Regions from separate parts of the Homo sapiens genome. Here regions 2 and 3 are each linked to region 1. The links are contacts of gene promoters, found by promoter capture Hi-C in blood cells and fetal thymus (Javierre and others, 2016). All regions are on one chromosome and are shown on one strand. The core of a region is centred on a gene start or on the middle of the fragment in contact, and the rest is flanking DNA. Distances in the headings are between cores, read along the strand shown.

Evidence for each region. Contacts are between HindIII fragments. The CHiCAGO score rates a contact against its expected background, and 5 or more counts as called.
Region 2: a contact is called between a fragment that was not itself captured here and the fragment with the promoter of DUSP5 in region 1, in 1 of 17 cell types (M2 macrophages). The highest score is 5.3, in M2 macrophages.
Region 3: a contact is called between a fragment that was not itself captured here and the fragment with the promoter of DUSP5 in region 1, in 1 of 17 cell types (total B cells). The highest score is 5.6, in total B cells.

The regions. Positions count from the first base shown.
Region 1 is chr10:110,495,688-110,499,643 of GRCh38, reverse strand. DUSP5 (dual specificity phosphatase 5) reads right to left here and starts at 1,737. Exons shown (of 4, transcript NM_004419.4): 1 at 1,144-1,737. The coding sequence starts at 1,522. DUSP5-DT (DUSP5 divergent transcript) reads left to right here and starts at 3,162. Exons shown (of 2, transcript NR_187547.1): 1 at 3,162-3,256. RefSeq lists silencers at 1,011-1,280, 1,401-1,460, 1,531-1,670, 1,681-2,210 and an enhancer at 2,692-3,215. The HindIII fragment of the contact is 7,811 bases long and covers 1-3,956 here.
Region 2 is chr10:106,920,451-106,924,783 of GRCh38, reverse strand. The region is part of intron 2 of SORCS1 (sortilin related VPS10 domain containing receptor 1); the gene reads left to right. Among named protein-coding and RNA genes, the nearest start is that of SORCS1, 240 kb to the left of the region's middle. The HindIII fragment of the contact is 1,712 bases long and covers 951-2,662 here.
Region 3 is chr10:114,525,216-114,529,335 of GRCh38, reverse strand. All of the region lies in intron 6 of ABLIM1 (actin binding LIM protein 1), which reads left to right. Among named protein-coding and RNA genes, the nearest start is that of AFAP1L2, 120 kb to the right of the region's middle. RefSeq lists enhancers at 2,188-2,417, 2,588-2,707. The HindIII fragment of the contact is 263 bases long and covers 1,967-2,229 here.

The sequences.
Region 1 (3,956 bases), core at 488-2,987:
GGTGCTAGCAGAGAGGGGAACTGTCTCCAGAATCTTCCTGGCCCGGACTGTGTGAAACTCAAGTTGCATGGCTTTAAAACAGGCTCCTAACTCGGCGCCGGCTCTCTGCACCGAGCTCTGATCCCCAACACTGTTACATCCCAAGGTGTCCGCGCCAGGGCTGGCACGGCCTTGGGGCCCTGCTGGGGCTAAACCCTCATCTCTACATGTGGGTCAGGTCTCCCCGGGTGTCATTTGAGGTTACAAAGGACTCAAACACAAAGCAGGAGCAGTCATAGGAAGTAACCCAGAAAAAACCAATGCTTTGGATTTTGAGAGTCAATCACCCACCCACCACCAGAAGCCAAAGTTATCTTCCCGGCAGGTGAAATGGGCAGGCCTGTGGCGGTAGCTCCGGGAGGTGTCAAATCAAAGGCCGCAGAATCTCCATACCACCCTGCCCCCGCGCACCTCTATTTCGTGGCTGGCTGGCTGTAGGCTCAGCTCAGGATGGGTCCCAGGGATAATCCTGGGGCGGAGGAAGGAGGAGGTGAAAAGGGTGGAAAGGATGTGAGCTCCAAACTGAGCTAGAGAAAAGACCTAGGAGGGGAGAAGAGGCCGGAGGGAAACAATAAAAAGCAATAAAATGAAATGGAAAGGGAAGGGACTCGCCAGGTCAAAAAGGCAAGGGGGTCGGTGAAGACCACAGCTGGCTAGGCGGGAGGAAGGGGGGCACCACGGCGCCACACCAAGGGAGAGTGGATCGCGACCTGCTGATCCCGCCAGATCAGTCTATCAGGAAGGCCCCGAGCCCTGACCCCAGCGACAGCGGCGAAGCTCGCGTCTGGAAAGGGGGCTCGTGCCCGGCACGAGCCGACGGCCCCCAAACTGCTAAACAGCAGCAGCCCCCGCAGCATAACCAACTCCACCCAGACCACCGGGCAGACCCGCTGCCGGGCGCTTTCGAGGAACGCGGGTGGGGAAGAGGGGGAGCTCTGAGTGCTGACATTTGCAGTGCCCTCCCAAGCGCACAACAAGCCACAGGGTGCAGACTCCTGCAGGTGGTGACTCTCCCGGTCCCAGGGTGTAGGAGGGCGCCCCGGCGCAGGGAGGGGACCCGGGGGCGCCGGAGGGGCGAGCGTGGCAGGGACCCCGAGCGCTCACCTTTGAGGAAGTAGACCCGCGGGCCGGCGGGTAGGCAAGCGAGTAGCGAGGTGAGGACGACACGCGCGGCGCTCTCCTCTCGCAGCTTCTGCCAGTGGCGGCTGCCCTGGTCCAGCACCACCACGGCCGCGACGCCGCCGCCGCCCTCCTGCAGGAGCCGCGCGCGCGCCGCCTCGTCGGGCAGCACGTAGCGCGCCGACACCGCGCCGCCCCGGGCCCGCCGCAGCACCACCGAGTTGAGGTTGACGTTGAGCGAGCCGCGCACGTTCGAGGCAGCGAAGGCCAGATAGGGCCGGCAGTCGAGCACCACGCAGCGCGCCGCCGCCTCCTTGCGGAGCATCTTGCGCAGCTGGCGCCCGTCGAGCGACGTGACCTTCATGCCGCCGCCGCCGCCGGCCAGCGGCCCCGCGCCGCGCGCCCCGCGGGTGCCCACGGCCAGGGTGTCCACGGCCAGGGTGTCCGCGGGCGAGGCACGGGAGGGCGACCCGCGGGGCTGCGGCCGCGACGGAGCCCGGCGCCCGAGCGGCGGCGCAACTCCGCGTTCCCGCCCCGCTCGCTCGATAGCCAGCCCGGCCGCTCGCCGCCCTAGAAGCCGGGGATTCCGCCGGCCGCGCAGCGTTTTATGTGAATGAGTGCCGTCCGTGACGCGGCTGCCCATATAAGGCCAAATATGGGTGTTTCCCCGCCCCTCGGGCCGTGGCCACGCCCTGCAGGGGGCGGGGCAGCGGGGGCGAGGGACGCGCGGGGCGGGTGCCGGCGTTAGAGCGAGAGGAAGTGGAAGGCGCCTCTTCGTTCTCTCTTCCGCGCTTCGCTGAGGGACTCACTCGCGCATCACCCGCGGCTGCCGGTCGAGTGTCCCAGGCGCTCCGGGGCCGCGGTGACCCTCGCGGTGCGGACCGAGGAGGAAGCGCCGTGGGGGGCGGGGCGGCGCCGCACGATCCGGCCTTCAGCTTCACGGACGTGGGCTGAGAACCCGCCCGCGCCGCGCTGAGCAGGGCCGAGGGAGCCGGCCAGGGCCCCAGAGGAGTCCGGAACGGATTCCCGTCGCTACCGAGGTCTGCGCGTGTAAGGAGAGGACGTCGGAGATTTGCCTCGAGGGGTGGGGTATAGATGACTGGAGAGGTCAGGCGCGGGTTGGTCATCGCTGAGGCTGGGTGATGGGTGGCCGGATTCGTTATACTGTTTTCTCCACTTTTCTGTATGTTTGATATTTTTCATAATAAAGTTTGTAAAAGTAAAAACGGGGGTTGGGGGTCGGCGGTGAGAATAGCCATTTAATCTTCCTAAATGGATTCTGCCCTCAAAGGATTGACGCTCTTTTCTCTGTCACTCTCCAATAATGATTAGAATAATAAGTTGTATTTTGAGGAGCTGTTTTCTGGTCCCGGGGAGACCCTTGGTGAACTCAGCAGTACCATCAGCATGTATCCCACGATGGAGCTCAGTTCAGCCAACTGTTGTCCAGGTGGCTTCTGGATTTGGGGGATTATCTATGGATCAAGTTTAATCTCAGGCTGTCTGCCCCCACCGGTCCCCAGGGGCTTCAGGCCTCCCACCCCTATTCCTGGGGAAGCAGACACAATTCACCCATTCAGCAAGCATTTATTGAGGGTCAGCCGTGTGCCAGGGCTTTGCTAGCTGCGGGGACACATGGATGGAAACAGGTTTCTGCCCCCAAGCTCACTGCCAACCATTTTATTGTTAGCCTGGCTGGGACTGCTTGATGGAAAACAGTCTGCCCGCACTAGACAAGGGCTTGTTGACAACTGACATAAGGGAATGAGGTTTTCAGAAGGAAGCAGAGATCAAATTTTGAAATCAGATGCAATCAAATCAGACACCAGGACAGCCAGCATTGCCTCTGGGTCACAGATGCATCCACCCAAAGGCGCTGTCCTCGCCTTGCCAGTGGGGTCTTGGTGAAGACGTGATGCGGGGGCCTTCTTTCTTTTTGTGGTTATCTGTGCCAGCCTTCCCTGCAGGCTGCTCTTCCTCTAGCACGTTCTGTTTCTGTTACCGGCTCTTTCCACCCCCGGCATCTCCGCCTAGAGCCACACACATACGCGGAGCACCCACGTGGGCCAGGCTTTGTTTTGGGGCTGGCGGCACCAACGTGAGTAAGACTTATACTCAGCCCCAGCTGCCCCCAGCCCAGAGGGAAGGGGAAGGCCTGTAGTCCGTGGGGAAGAGCGCCCAGTAGGGGTGTGGCAGGGTGGGGCGTGGGCTGGAGAAGGCCTCCCGAGGAGAGGAGAGCTGAGGCCAACTCCGAGGAATGAATTGTAAGCCAGGCTGCGAAGCAGGAGGGGAGATTCCAGGCAGAGGAAACTGCTTGGGGTAAAGAAAACAAAAAACGCAACCCCCCCAGCATGGTGCGTACTGGAGGTATGTGGGAGACTAAGGCCCTTCTGGTATTTATTAGCAGATTAAGCAGGGTCAGGCAACAGAGGGCCTTGTGCTGTTTTGAGTCATTTGGGTCTTAGTCTTTGGCCGGGCAGTCCCCAACGAGGGATCTTACTCAGTGACAAGATCCGGATAGCATTTGGGAACATCGCTGAGGCGGCTCTGTGCGGGATCGGTGCTTTATTTGAGAGTGGTGGTGGGGTCCGGAGTCTGGGGGATGGATGGGAGGATTTCATGGGTAATCTAGACATGAGCTGATATGGACTTGCCAGAACTTGGCAGTGACAGCAGCTATGGGGAGGCCATAGGAATGGGAGCACATTGAGGAAGTGAGATGCTGGGAGGGGTGAGATGGGGAGAGAGAACTGGAGAGGGACACCAAAGATTTTTTTGTTTCCGGATTTTTTTTTTTT
Region 2 (4,333 bases), core at 557-3,056, 3.6 Mb after region 1:
ACATAAAAAAAAAAAAAAATCCATGCAGTTAAATGTAAAAATTGAAAAAAAAAAAGACTTGGGAATCCCTGTTCATCTGTTTCTCAGGGCTGTCACTAGCAGCAGCACCAACATCTGTAAAAATAGAAAGTGAGGATGGTGGACAATTATTTTTGACAAAGTCCTTCCATACCACCTATCCTCTTGTTCTTACGCTTCCTTTCTTTTCAATTTCCTCTTTTGCCTTTTGCCTCCATATGTTTTGGAGTAGCTCCTGCCCAATGCAAATTAGATAGATAGATAGATAGATAGATAGATAGATAGATAGATAGATAGATCGATAACTGTGGAATTTTCATAATATTAAAAATTATCAAAATTTTATTTGCATGTTTTAATTTTGCTTTGCTTTATTTTTACCATATCATTTATCTAATACAATAAAATGTTCCTTTCAATCACTGAGCAGTTCCTCAGACACTATCATTATCATGCATTTCTCACTAAAGCAAATTGTTTTTAATTAAAAGGTAGTTTTTTTTTTTTTTTTGAGATGGAGTTTTGCTCTTATTGTCCAGGCTGGAATACAGTGGCACGATTTCGGCTCACTGCAACCTCCACCTCCCGGGTTCAAGCGATTATCCTGTCTCAGCCTCTCAAGTAGCTGGGATTACAGGCATGTGCCTCCACGCCCGACTAATTTTATATTTTTAGTAGAGATGGGGTTTCTCCATGTTGGTCAGGCTGGTCTCGAACTCCCGACCTCAGATGATCTGCCCTTGGCCTCCCAAAGTGCTGGAATTACAGGCATGAGCCACTGCGCCCAGCCAGATTATTATTTTAAAGCCATTTATCAAAAGAATGAGAAGACAGTCCACAGATTGGGGAAAATATTTGCAAAAGACCTATCTGATAGAGAACTGTTATCCACACTATACAAGCACTATTACAACTCAATAATAAAAAAAGCTTTCTTTAAAAAATCAAACACAAACAAACATGCAAGCAAACAAAAACGGGCAAAAGATCTGAACAGATAACTGGCCGAAGAAGATATGCAGATGACAAATAAACATGGGGAAAGATGTTCAACACCATGTAAGAGAATTGCAAATGAAAACAATGATAGCCACTAACACTTATTAGGATGGCTAAAATCCAAGACACTGACACCACCAAATGCTGGTGAGGCCGTGGAGCAACAGCAACTCTCATTCTCATTACTGGTGGAAATGCAGAGTGGTTCAGCCACATTGGAAAACAGTTTCGCAGTTTCTTATAAAACTAAACATAATCTTACTGTAAGATCCAACAATCAAGCTGCCTTTACCCAACTGAATTGATGAAAACTTATATATTCACACAAAGTTCATTCAAAACCTGAATTCATCTAAGATGTCCTTTGGTAAGTGGATGGATTTTGGTACATCCATACAATGGAATATTATTCAGCTAAAAAGAAATGAGCTATTAAGCCATAAAAAGACATAGAGGAAAATTAAATGCTTATTACTAAGCAAAAGAGCCAATCTGAAAGGGCTGCATTATCTATGACTCCAAATACATGACATTCTGGAAAAGATAAAACTACGGAGACGGTAAGAAAGTCCATGGTTGGCCGGACCTGGTGGCTCACGCCTGTAATCCCAGCACTTTGGGATGCTGAGGCGGGCGGATCACGAGGTCAAGAGATCGAGACCATCCTGGCCAACATCGTGAAACCCCGTCTCTACTAAAAGTACAAAAATTAGCTGGGTGTGGTGGCGTGTGCGCCTATAGTCCCAGCTACTCGGGGGGCTGAAGCAGGGAAATTGCTTGAACCCGGGAGGTGGAGGTTCCAGTGAGCTGAGATTGCGCCACCACACTCCAGCCTGGGGACAGAGCGAGACTCCATGTCAAAAAAAAAAAAAAAAGAAAAGGCTGCATGGTTGTCATGGGTTGCAGGAAGGGAGGGATGAATAGATCAAACACAGAGGACTTCCAGGGTAGCGAAACTATTCTATATGATACTAAAATGGTGGACACATTGTTATTATACATTAGTCCAGACTTGTAGAATATATAAGTCTAGGATGAACCCTAACGTAAACTGCGGATTTGGGCGATAATAATAGGTCAGTGTTGGTTCATCAGTTGCAACAAGTGTACCACTCTAGGGTAGATGTTGATAGCAGGGGAGGCTGTGTGTGTACAAGGGAGGGGGACAGGAGTCATATGGGAACTCTCTGTACTTTCACTTAAATTTGCTGTGAACCTAAAGCTACCCTTAAAAGAAGCCTAATAAAAAAAATCCCCAAAATGTCTTTGACTGGTTTCGTTATTTGATGGTATCAAAGTTTTGACTTTATTATCAACGGGCTTTTGTTTTTTCTTTGTCTATTTGTGTTGTTTGTTTATTGTTGGAAGCCCTTCAGGGGATGACAGAAGATCTATCCAGGTGCCAGAGTCTGCTGTAGTCTTCATGTTGAGAAGTCAGCTGCTCTTATCTCCCACATCCCTAGCAAGGCAACCCTGTCATTTCTTACTCTGTTGAGGTTCTATGTTAGTGCTCAGTGGTAGTTGTGTGTTTAGCGTATGTCACCTGGAACCCGCCTCTGAAATTCATAACTTTGTCCTTGGCTCAAAATTAAAGTGCTGAAAGAAACTTATCCCTTTCATTCTTTCCTAAGCTCTAATGTAAGCTTTGTTCACCACCTGAGGAGACCTGTCTGCTCAATAAGACTGTCCATTTACAAGTGGCATTTTCAGATTTTTGACCTTTCTTATATTTCTTAATGTTTTTCTACTTCTGGGACTTCAGAAGTTCAGCAGATCAGAGGGGATTTCTCAACTTGGTATGAGATGCAGCACGATGGAAAGCAATTTCTTAGATTTCCCTTATGGGAATAAGGTGCGTGAATTATATGAGGTCAGACCCTAGAGAGGGCTTTTCTGGAAATGCAGGCAACATAGCAAAGAAATAAGCATTGTTCAGATTGAATTTGTAATAGTTGGAGGATAGGTGTCAGCTTGCTTACCTGGTTTTGCCTTTTGGGGCACTGGACCCTTAGCATTAATACCGACAGAGTTTATAGTTTCCTATTGTTTTTATTGAGTCCTTATAGTTTCTATAGGGGTAGCAATGCAGTGGATGTCATGGTTCCAAGGCATGTGTGAGATAGACTTTCTCCTTCCTCCCGACTCCCTGTGTCCCTTGCACTGAGTTATTAAGCAGATGATTCTTTTTAATAACATTTGTTATTAAATGATTATATAATGATTCTGTTTAATACGATTTGCGCTCTTCAATCAAATAGAGGAGTCAGATAAAGAATATTGAAATGGAATTAAGAGAGGAGAAAGTGAGAGAACATTGTAAGTCTGATATATCTAGATGAAATTATGCTCTGAAGTCCATTTTCCCTATGTCAGGAATTTGGTTCCTGTTGCATCAGTGGAGCCTGATAAGGACCAGGGAAGCAGAGGCATTCTGTAGGTCTTGTATGTAAGGAGCTGAGTGAAGAGAACTTGAGAAAAAGGCATCAGAGTTCTGGGCTATTTTCTTTCCCCATCACATAGGGGTAGGAGGAGTCTTCCCCTCACTTTGAGCCCCATGAATGTATGGGCTTCAAGAGAGCTTTACCTGTATCTCTCCAAATTTGGGGCTTTAAAAACTGGAACATAACACTTGACTGAGATAATCAAAATGGTTTGTAGATTGAGATCTGATGCCTGCCTGGGAAATGAAGAGGGAGAGGCAAGAGCTGACCACCTGCAAGACGATGAGCTAGAGATGTTCTTGCCGTGGTGCCTTGGAGCTGGAAAAATGGGAGTGTTTTCCCAGGAGCATGCCATGGAGACTGTTGCTGGGGTCCTCTCAGGTCTCGTTCAACAGACTTCTCTGGAGGGACAAGCAGGCCTCATGGTGAAGAGGGCTAGAGTTGAGCTGCCAGGTGACAAGCAGTTGAGAAGGGTGACTCCACCCACTATTTGGACTGGAGATGCACCCATCCAGGTCATAAGACCACAAGGCAGAGATCCAGCAAGAGATTCTAAAGAGCGCACCCAAGAAAAAGAGTCACTTTCACCATCTGCCAGGCCCAGAGTGCTGGAAACCTCCCAGCCACAAAAGAACAGCCCTCACTTCCTACACGCTTTTCTCTCTTGCTTTCCTGGAGCAAGGCGGCAAGTTGAGTCAAGAAACTCCATTAGGCTCATTAAAGAGCAGATGACCACACGTCCTTTCTGCAGTGCAGGTGGCAGCCTGAAAAGGGTGGGGGAATTCAGGGACAGGGTGGGTGTAGGGATGAGGACATGGGAGGGAGAAGGGGTGGATTTAATATAGTTGTATACAGGATTTTGATTACTATCTTCA
Region 3 (4,120 bases), core at 849-3,348, 4.0 Mb before region 1:
CTGGCCACCACGGTGAAACCCCATCTCTACTAAAAATACAGAAATTAGCTGGGCATGGTGGCATGTGCCTGTAGTCCCAGCTACTTGGGAGGCTGAGGCAGGAGAATCGCTTGAACCCGGGAGGCAGAGGTTGCAGTGAGCCAGTATCGCACCACTGCACTCCAGCCTTGCGACAGAATGAGACTCTGTCTCAAAAAAAAAAAAAAAAAGAGGATGAAGACTCGTGGGTAGTGAGCCTAATTCTGACGCTCAAGTTACTTCTTGCCATGTGACTAGAAGCCTGGGTAAGTGTCCCATTTTACCTTTGTAAAGGGGGACACCTTCACTCCTCTGACAGACATTGCATGCTAATATCTTAAACATGAGGTGAGGTGCAGGGGTTACAGAGGTAAAAGGTACCATCCTTAACCCCAAATGGTCTTACCATCTAAGGCTGAGGTTCTAAAACCACTATGCCTAACAATCACCTGCATATCTTGTTTGAAGTGTGGATTCCCAGCACAACATGGTGCCTATCATTAACAATACTGTATTGTGCACTTAAAAATTGAAGACAGTACATCTCATGTTGTGTTCTTACCACAATAAAAATGAAGTTATTCATGCTTTTAAAAAATAATGAAGTATGGATTCTCAGGCCTCACCCCAGACATTCTGATTCAGGAGGCCTGGGAATCTGCATGTGAACATGCAGCCCTGCCCTGGGTGATTCTGGTACAGGGAAGTCCACAGATGCCACTTTGAGGATCTGGCCCTATAAGGGTGTGGTGAGGACACATTGATGGAGGTTTCTGACTCCTCAGAAGAAAAATGCACTAGAAATTTAGTGAGACCCCTGTCATTATTATGATGTATAAGCCAATAGTCTCCTCTTCATTTTAGAAGCACGGCTTTGTTGCTAAAACCTTACATTTTCTCAGCACTGCTTGGGACTTCTTCCAAACCAGCTTAGAGAGATTCCACATGTCTATATAAAAGGGTCTTTTCATTTCCTGATCTTTGTGGGCAAATAATCTCCCTAAAAAATTTCGTAAATCATCCTAGTCTTCTTAAAAATGACAAACGTGGCAGGGCAGGGTGGCTCACACCTATAATTGCAGCACTTTGGGAGGCTGAGGCAGGAGGATCACTTGAGGTGAGGAATTCAAGACCAGCCTGGGCAACATAGTGAGATCCTGTCTCCACAAAAAATTTAAAAATTGCCGGGCGCAGTGGCTCACGCCTGTAATCCCAGCACTTTGGGAGGCTGAGGCGGGCGGATCACAAGGTCAAGAGATCGAGACCATCCTGGCCAATGTGGTGAAACCCCATCTCTACTAAAAATACAAAAATTAGCTGGGTGTGGTGGTGCATACCTGTAGTCCCAGCTACTCAGGAGGCTGAGGCAGGAGAATTGCTTGAAACTGGGAGGCGGAGGTTACAGTGAGCCAAGATCACGCCACTGCACTCTAGCGTGGGCAACAGAGCGAGACTCCGTCTCAAAAAAAAAAAAAAACTTTAAAAATTAGCCAGGCATGGTGGCTCACACCTGTAATCCCAGCTACTCAGGAGGCTGAGGTGGGACAATCGCTTGGACCCAGGAGTTGGAGGTTGCAGTGAGCTGATTGCGCTATGATCGTGCCACTGCACTCTAGCATGGGTGACAGAGATCCCATCTCAAAAAAAAAAAAAAAAAAGACAAGAGTTGTTACAGAAATCTTTCCATCATCCTAAGAAAGAGTACATTAAAAGGGCTGTGCCATCACTGGAGAAACTTCCAGTTCCTCCTCTCTGTTCACATGCATAGAGAGCCTGCAGCTTCCCCTCAGTCACTGGCTCACCTGAGATTTCTGCAGGGATGGTTTCGTTGAAAATGAGGCTGTGTGTATAAAATGCCTGCAACATAGCCAGTAGCTAGCCAGTAATTTTCTGCTACAATTAAAAACACACAATACAAAATGTACCAAAAATATGAATCAAGAAAGCTTGATAAGAGGTTTTCCAATCATATTTGTCTCAGACAGTACTGCAGAATAATATGGAAATTCTGAAGTAACAAAAGGGAATAAAAAGTTGAACTCAGTTTTGTTATACTTTTGCATAAGGGGTTCCTTACATGTACCTCAAAAGCAGGGACTTGCGAGGAGGCTGCAGGCTGTGTGATGGCTGTGCTCAGCTAGGCACCTTTCCATCATCTCAAATCCGAGAAAGAAACTCAAAAAGCCTAAGAATCTCGTTTCAGTACAAGCTTATGCCTCAGGGACAATCACTGTCGGTTTCACATGCAGACAATAGTGAGTGAATGCAAAGAAATGGTACTTTCCTACCTGCATTTAAAAAAAGAAAGAAAGTAAATCTACTCCCCCTCCTTTTTTGGGAACATGGACTGGCCCATTGTGGTTGCTGGTGTGTTGAACTAGTAAGTAAAGCGAGGAGAGGAGGCGTGAGAGAGCGTGCCTGCCCGCCGCACACGGGGCTGGTTTCCGGAGTGCGTCTCTAGAGGGATGCACGTTGCCTTAGCCGAGCTTCGGAGAGAAGCCTGATATGTAACCCAGGCAGGTGGGAGCCTCAGTCTGTCGGGCTGAGGTCTGGCATCTACAAAGCCTCTTGGCCGTGTTCTGAACTTGAAGCCTGGAGGAGTTCTCTGCTCAGCACAGCCAAGGAACAGAATTAGAAGAAAAGGAACCCTGGCCTGAGGTAAAGCGGACATTGCACAAGGTGACCTATGTCCTTTGCTTTGCGTGGCAGATGTGAGATTTCTGGCTTCCTTCGTGAGGTCGGAGGCCGCTCGGATCCTCCAAATGTGGTGGCTGGATGCTGGCGACAGAAGTCACTTTTATTGCCCTGACATACATTTATGTAAACTTTTTGTTTTCCTGATGATACAAAAGAAACGACAGGAGCTTTTGTTCATCGATACAGAACTAGACTGAAGGGCAGGAAAGGCTGGTTATTTATTTCACTGAGAAGTGTAGTGCGTTGACCTTTTAAACAAGGCTTATGTTTTTTTAGGCTGCTACCCGCAAGATTGAAAGGAGACTGTGGTTTTCAGACTTTGGGGTTGTTTTGTTTTGTCTGTGGTTTGTAGAGCTCTGTGAAATTTACATTTGAGTCCTGTTTGGGGGATTTGGTGGTGGAAGTGGCACGTGGGAATGAGTAGATTTAGCTATTACTGTAAATTATGAGATTTTTTTTTCTTTAAGAAATACCCAATAAATGAAAATAAGGAAACAAAATGTTTAGATGTTATTCATGTTTTATTGCGGCTCTAGGTTGAAAGAGCTTGACAATTGCCTCTCTTTCCACCTTTGATATGCAGTAAAAGAAATCTAGAGATTCTGGCCTTTATATTGAAAATAGTTTTCCTAAAAACCCAGTTATTAATCGAATCATACTGTAAAGACTTTTTTTGGGGGGAAAGTGTTTTAAAATGTGCTATACTAGCATGAAAGAAGAAATGGGACCAGAAAGTTATTTCATCTGTGAAAAAAATAGATTTATGATGTTGGAAAAGAAAAAAAGAAAACGTGAGTTTGGCCATAAGCCAGCAGGAGTGTGGTCGCTATAGCAGCTTCATTTGTCACTTAGCTGAGATTGGAGACTTAAAAGAAAACTGAGCCTGTTTTTCTCTCAGACAGCCTCATAAGGAATGTTAAGAGGATGTGAAGTTATTTAGATTACCAAAACAGGTTCTGACAAGTAAGTGAAAATAACTCATTAAAATATAATTGTTGCCATTCTATAAATGGATCAAAAGGCTTGTTGAGTCACTGCGTACTTATAGAATAGGTGAATTTGCCACGGCTCATTGGTATAAATTACTTTTGAGAAGGCTTTTTAAGACTAAGCGTGAGGCCTTGCCAAGCATCCCTTATAACACTTAGAATGTTTTGACCAATGTTTTCGAGGCGGTTGCCTAAGCATTTTCATGTGTCAGTGAGTCTAATCCTCGCATCAGTGGCTTATCCAGTAAGCTCAGGGAATATTATATCCTGACAACAGAAGCCTGCAGATTTTTCTCTTCAACTAAACAATAGCTCACCTAAAAGGACAGAAAGTGAACTACTCAGTTCTTGTAACCTGACTTTCTGGAGGGATGGTCATGATTTTGGCTCCTGTAGAACAGGGTTTCTCAACCTCA